Linked DNA regions of Homo sapiens: region 2 is linked to region 1. The links are contacts of gene promoters, found by promoter capture Hi-C in human tissues and cell types (Jung and others, 2019). All regions are on one chromosome and are shown on one strand. Each heading gives the region's core, a stretch centred on a gene start or on the middle of the fragment in contact. The rest is flanking DNA. Distances are from core to core; before and after follow the strand shown. Region 1 holds the start of DMAP1 (DNA methyltransferase 1 associated protein 1). Region 2 overlaps RNF220 (ring finger protein 220).

Region 1 (3,458 bases), core at 65-2,564:
TGTACTGTGATCCCTGTCTTCACAGAAATGAGTCTATTAGAGATATATATTAAACAAGTAATTACACAATTAATTAACTACAACTAGGGTCAAGTGTTTCAGGCAGCCAATTGCTCTCTCCCTTTCTGGCTCCAAGGACCATTTCCTTACCCTGTGGACAATTTCTGCTGTAAGACTGTGACTTCCTCCGGCAACTGTTTGGAGCTCAGTGGATCCATCCAGGAATCAGACCCAGGAACAGGTTTGTACCTCCAGGCCTAGTTCTCCAAAGTTTTGGGGACTAGTCAGGCTTGTGGCTACAGCTGTTGTATCCCCTTGTCTTCTCCAGGCCAGAACAGGCTACACCACTTATAGCTAACTTGCGCAAACTGTCTGCTCCTCTAGTCCCTGCTGGTATCTTTGGCAGGTCTCGACTTGGGGTCTGGCCTTCTTAATGCCTTAACAAGCCCCACCCTATCCCACAGGCTATGTGTCCTTCAAATTGACAGGCTGGTTTGCAGACTGCTGAAGCTGGGAGCTGCTTTCCTTGTCCCTTGTGCCCTTCCTCAGGACCTCCTGTCTCTCTCTTTCCAGGAAGATCCCCAGGTTTATTCCCTTGAGGGATACTTCTAAGCTGGTTCCTGCTTGGGGCTGTGTTTTGGGCTTCTTCGTAGCCCAAAGAGTGCAGCTAGCTCCTGTACTAGTGAAGTGCCACGAAGCTGGCCTCCAGGAAATCCCCACGAGGCCACAACCCACAGCTATCTCCATCAGAGGAGGTGCAAATGAGGGCCCACACCTTACTCCATTTTGGCAGCCGCCCTAGGAAGCTCTGCCTTTATTTCTTCATCTTCAAGCTTATCACAATTTGAAGTTTATCTCTTCACCTCCAAGCTTAGCACAGTGCCTAGTACATATTAGCACTTAATGAAGAGGGGGCAATTCAAATCATTAACTCATTTAATAAAAAAATAGTAAATGTCCCACGCACCGTGCTAATGTTTTACAAGGATTCTTGGTATTTCATTTACACAGGTGCCATTACAATTTCCATTCGGCAAATAAAGAAAAAGGTCCAGAGAAATTAAGTGACTTCCCAAAGTCACAAAGTTCTGGTATCTCTTCACTGCCTGAGACGCAACGGAGCATCGTAGAGGGAAAATGCCAGAAAGCAGGCAGTGCACCAATGAAAACAGGCTCGCGGGAGAACCAAAGGGTGGCAAGCTCAGCACGGCCAGTAGCTTTCACCCTCGGTTGCCAGTCGGCTTCGTTTCCTACAACACCGACCGGAAGTGTTTCTGTCGGCCGCGTTCCGAATGAGCACCGCCGGAAGTTTCTGCCGCGGCTTTGCGGGGACGGGGGAGTGGTAGTGGGGGCTGCAGCTGCCGGACCCAGGTGCGGAAGTGCGAGGGCCCAGGTGGCTGAAGGGGCCGTTAGGAACATCCAAGCGGTGGGGCACAGGCAGATCCCCGACCTGACCTGGACCACCCTTCTCCTCTTGGCCCGCCCCTTCAACTCGCCTCCGCTTAGGTCTGGATTGGCCCCGCCCCCTGACCTGAGCCTGGTCCTTCTTCAGGCACTGACCCTTGACCTCCGGTGGCTCCCCCATCTCTCAGGCGCGATGGCTACGGGCGCGGATGTACGGGACATTCTAGAACTCGGGGGTCCAGAAGGGGATGCAGCCTCTGGGACCATCAGCAAGAAGGACATTATCAACCCGGACAAGGTAGCAGGGGCACCTGAAAGCGTTGACTAGGGGAGGGTAGGGGAGTGAAGATGGGGAGGAGTGACAACGGGCAAGGGATGGGTGCTACACTTACAGTGAGTTGGGCGATAAAAGGGGTGACATAACAGGACAGGGAATATGTGTCATCCTTGATGGGAGGGAGGAGATGGGACATCGTGGGAGATGGTGGGACCAAGAGGGTATGACACCTCTAAGAGCTGAGAGGACCAGGCAAGTGTGATTTTTGCAAGATATTGTTGGGGAGAGATCAAGACATTGTAACAGTCTGAGAGTTGGTGGGATGGGGAGGGGACTGCTCTGATTTGGGCGTAGGATGGTGTTCCTGGGAGTGGGTTTCTGTGCCTTTACAGTGTGTCAGTTTGCCTGTCATTGACCCTGTAGGTGCTGCTTTGTTCAGGGATTGAGCTGGACTAAAGAATTTTCAGGAAAGGGTCTAGGTTGTGGTTCCTTTCTGTGGTTTCCTTCCTCAGAAAAAATCCAAGAAGTCCTCTGAGACACTGACTTTCAAGAGGCCCGAGGGCATGCACCGGGAAGTCTATGCCTTGCTCTACTCTGACAAGAAGCAAGTATTGGAGTCCCAAGTCCCCCAGGTTTTGGCCCCTGATTCACCTGCCATGCCCCTAACTCCTAGTTTTCTCTAACAATTTTCTCCTCCCCAGCAAGGGCTCCTGCTTGCTTAGCAGGATGCAGGAGGACCTGAAGTCTTTTGCTCCAGGACATGACTTTCTTGCTATAGGGTAGGGTAGATCAGCTCCCTGGGACAAAAAGCTCTTTAACACACCTTCTGATTCTAACCTCGCATCTCCCTAAACCTCCCTGCCAGGGATGCACCCCCACTGCTACCCAGTGACACTGGCCAGGGATACCGTACAGTGAAGGCCAAGTTGGGCTCCAAGAAGGTGCGGCCTTGGAAGTGGATGCCATTCACCAACCCGGCCCGCAAGGACGGAGCAATGTTCTTCCACTGGCGACGTGCAGCGGAGGAGGGCAAGGACTACCCCTTTGCCAGGTTCAATAAGGTAAGCTACCTTCATTCGGACACAGGCCAAGATTGCCCTCCCACTTTGAGCCATTTGTGCGAGCTCTCCAGTCTCCTAGGGTTGGTTCTGGGGGCACGCTTATGCCCAACTGTGATTACCCACTCAATCCTCGTGGCAAATGCATGCAGAGTAGGACTCTGTGGGTCTTTTCTGCCCAAGGGATCCTGTTCTTTCCCGGACCTGCTCTGGTTTTTCATGGCTTTTCTTGGTCTTTCAAATGTTGCTGTTCCTCAGAGCTGTATCCTAGGTGCTCTAGTCTTCTTGTTCTCTACTTTCTTAGTATGAACCCTGTGGCTTCAGTTACCCTCTCTACAAGTCACCAATCCAGAGCAGTGCTTCCTTCGCATCCAGTCATTTACTAATATCTCTTTCTCAATGCCCCACAGGTACCTTACATCAGGTAGGTACCCTGAACAGAGCTCATCATCTTCCCTCTGTCAGTCCCAAATCTGTTCCCCATCTCAGTGAATGGCACTATCTTCCACCCAGTTGCCCAAACCAGAAACTTGGGGGATCGTCCTTGACTTAGTCTTCTCCCTTAGTCCTCACAGTATTTAAATCAACAACAGAACAAAGAAGGTAGGGGAAAACAAACAACAAACATGTAAGGAAATAAATTGGAGTCTTTCAAATAAGAGCCGTCAGTAACACGAAACCAGGATTTGAATGGATATGAAATGAGATAAAGAGTGAAC
Region 2 (3,678 bases), core at 1,122-3,621, 270 kb after region 1:
GGAAGACCTTCCTTTTCTATCATCCTTGGACATCACCCATGGACACTTCTGAAAAAGATATTAAATAATTTTTGTGGGTGAGCAGCTTTTTTCAGCCTACTGCCTACTTGTAGAAATTTGGGGCCCCAGAAATCTTTTTACATCTTCAATAGTCTCTGTTTCTTTCCGTTGGAGCAGGCAGTCTTTCACCAATACAGCTCTCTCACAAACTTTGTGGATTTTTTTTTTTTTTTTTAGACAGAGTCTCACTCAGTCGCCCAGGCTGGGGTGCAGTGGCGCATTCTCGGCTCACTGCAACCTCCGCCTCCCGGGTTCACGCCATTCTCCTGCCTCAGCCTCCCGAGTAGCTGGGACTACAGGCGCCTGCCACCAGTGCCCAACTAATTTTTTATATTTTTAGTAGAGACAGGGTTTCACCGTGCTAGCCAGGATGGTCTCGATCTCCTGACCTCGTGATCCGCCCACCTCAGCCTCCCAAAGTGCTGGGATTACAGGTGTGAGCCACCGCGCTCGGCCAACTTTGTGGATTTTTATGTGTTTTATACTCATCAACTCTATGTACCACAAGCCACACCCACAATTTTTACAAGACAGAATCTACCGAGACTTAAGTACTGGGAATGTCAGGCTGCTGTAGAACCTTGCTCTTAAGTTTTCTACAAGCTTCATTTTCAGCTGCAAGAGCCTATTAGATGCCATCTGATTTCCTTCAGAGCTTAATACTCTTGATTTTGACTTCACCTGGAAACAGTATCGTTCTTGCCGCACTCTGGATTAGGTCTTTAGCCCCAGGATGGATCTTAATTTGAAAATCTCTTACTAGAGAGATTGGAGATGAGAAAGTTTTATTTTTCAACCCCACAAATTCTGGGTTCTCTATATTCCCACTGAATCCTGCTTGCAAACTAGCCAGTTTTCTGAGTTTATCACTTTCTTGTTAGTGCTTCATCAAATACAGCTAAAAGCAGCCAGCTCATGCTTGCAATGTTTTGCCTTAAGATCCCCTCCTTCACCTTTGCTAGTTTATAAGATACGTTTCCTGCCTTCCAAATTATTGTAGTTTAGTCACAAGTTTACCACTAAATAATACAAGTTGCTATTATTCCCGGCTTTTATACCAGCTTCCTTGCTGCCCACTTGCCTAGTCCCAAAGCCAATGTCACATATCTTTGTGTTTTGTTGTTCTAGTTATAACAGCACCTTGCTATTTAAAATGACTGCAAAGGCAGGGCACAGTGGCTCACATCTACTCCCAGCACTTTGGGAGGCCAAGGCAAGTGGATCACTTGAGTCCAGGAGTTTGAGACCAGCCTGGCCAACATGGTGATATGCCATTTCTACTAATAATACAAAAAAAATCAGCCAGGTGTGATGGTGCATGCCTGTAGTCCCAGCTACTCAGGGGGCTGAGGTGGAAGGAACGCTTGAGCCTGGGACGTAAAGGCTGTGGTGAGCCCTGATCGTGCCACTACACTCCAGCCTGGGCAACAAAGTGACTCTGTCTCAAAAATTAATTAATTAATTAATTAAGTGATTGCAAAAGATGAAATGAAAATGAATGGTGTAAAAGAGAGAAAATAAAAGGGCACAGACCCAAGCCCTGGATAACTCTAACATTTAAAGATGTGGTAGAGGAAAAGAAGAAAGGAGTCTGAGAAGGAATGGACAATAGAGATCATAAAACCAAGGAGGAAAAAGGAGTGTTTTAAAAGAGAAAATGGGCCGGGGGCAGTGGCTCACGCCTGTAATCCCAACACTTTGGGATCACTTGAGGTCAGGAGTTCAAGACCAGCCTGGCCAACATGGTGAAACCCTGTCTCTATTAAAAATACAAAAATTAGCTGGGCATGGTGGGGCACGCCTGCAGTCCCAGCTACTTGGGAGGCTAAAGCAGAAAAATTGCTGGAACGTGGGAGGCAGAGGTTGCAGTGAGCTGAGATTGTAACACTGCACTCCAGCCTGGGCAACAGAGTGAGACTCCGTCTCAAAAAATAAAGTAAAATAAAATAAAATAGAAAATGATGAGTTACGTCAAATGCTCCTGGGAGATCAAGGACAGAGATGTACATGTCTTCAGGATTTGGCAATATGGAGGGCAATAGGTCACTTTGAGAACAGTTTAGTGGAATGACAGGGCAAATTCAAGTTGACATGAATTGAAGAGCTAATAGGGGGTGAGAAAATGTATGCAGCAGATGTAGACAACACCTTGGAGGTGTCTGGGGATAAAGAAGAGCAGAAGACTGAGCGTGGTGGCATACGCCTGTAATCCCAGCACGTTGAGAGGCTGAGGTGGGAGGATTGCATGAGCCCGGGAGTTCAAGACCAGGTTGGGAAACATAGTGAGACTCCATCTCTGCAAAAGAATTTTAAAAATTAGCTGGGTTTGATGACGTGCACCTGTAGTCCCAGCTACTTGGGAGGCTGAGGCAGGGGGAATCACTTGAGCTCAGGAATTCGAGGCTGCAGTGAGCTGTGATCGCCCTGCTGCACTCCATCCTGGGTTGGCCATCATCCTCAGCAAACTAACACAAGAACAGAAAACCAAACACCGCATGTTCTTACTCATAACTGAGAGTTGAACAATGAGAACACATAGACCCAGAGAAGGGAACAACACGCACACAGGGCCTGTTGGGAGCTGGAGGTTGAGCGGGGGGTACTTAGAGGATGGGTCAATAGGAGCAGAAACCACCATGGCACACATACACCTATGGAACAAACCTGCACGTTCTGTACATGTATCCCTTTTCTTTGGTTTGTTTTTCTTTAGAAGAAATAAAGGGGGAAAAAAAGAAGAGCAGAAAAATATGATGGCAAGTGGAGAGGATGTGGAATCAAGAGAGAGAACTTTTTTGTTCTTGAGAGAAGATAGCAGTGCATGTGTGTGTGTGCTGGTGGAAGTGATCCAGGCAAAGAAAAAGACTGACAGTCAAGAAACAGAGATGATGAAGCAGTTTAAAAGACAAGAAGGGATGGAATCCAGACCACTTGTGAGGGATTAGACTTCAGTCGTAAGAGGGTCATTCTCTCAGTTGTAACAGGAGAGAACAAGGAGCAGATGAAGTTAATTCAGAGATAAGAAGCCAAAACAATGAGCACCCGCTTTTCCTGGGTGCCTGCTCTGTGTCAGGCATTGCACCAGAAGTTCTGCATGCAGTACTTGGGCCCCTTGATTTTGGTTTTATTTCATTCCCATTTTACAGACAAGAAAACAGAAGCTTAAAAGGTTAATTTTCCTAAAGTTTCTCAACTTACAAGTAGCAGAACTGGGATTCAAACCCCATCCATCTGACCATGAACCCATATTTGATTTCTATTCCAAACAGATTCATTTTTCCATAGAGAAATAATGTTCAAAAAATGAGACAAAACTAAGAATACACGGCCTGCAGACCAGACCTGGTCTAGTCTGGATCCCTGGGGCTCCCTTCTCAGGGGAGCAGGAGGGGTGGAGGGCAGTTGCTGTGGTGAAGACATTTGAAGGAAGTGGGGAGAGAAGACTGATACTAACTCCAGTCCGTTCACCTTTTAGATACTGCATATTTTTCAAAGAATTTTTGTGTTCCTTCTCTCAGTGAGCAATGAATAGCTTCAGTGGAGCTAGAAATCTTTCTGTAGGAAGAAAGGAGCTATGCTCTGGTTGTCATGAGGCATTTGAGTTCTAGGGGATCTGAA

The links. The method cuts DNA at HindIII sites, captures the fragments that hold promoters and counts their contacts. A contact is called where the count stands out against the background at its distance.
Region 2: a contact is called between a fragment that was not itself captured here and the fragment with the promoter of DMAP1 in region 1, in 1 of the 25 tissues and cell types used here (bladder).

The regions. Positions count from the first base shown.
Region 1 is chr1:44,212,157-44,215,614 of GRCh38, forward strand. DMAP1 (DNA methyltransferase 1 associated protein 1) reads left to right here and starts at 1,315. Exons shown (of 10, transcript NM_019100.5): 1 at 1,315-1,702; 2 at 2,194-2,285; 3 at 2,547-2,742. The coding sequence starts at 1,598. RefSeq lists a silencer at 624-723 and enhancers at 1,121-1,415, 1,154-1,393, 2,159-2,660, 2,661-3,160. The HindIII fragment of the contact is 10,626 bases long and covers 1-3,458 here.
Region 2 is chr1:44,478,900-44,482,577 of GRCh38, forward strand. All of the region lies in intron 2 of RNF220 (ring finger protein 220), which reads left to right. Among named protein-coding and RNA genes, the nearest start is that of MIR5584, 65 kb to the right of the region's middle. The HindIII fragment of the contact is 6,321 bases long and covers 1-3,678 here.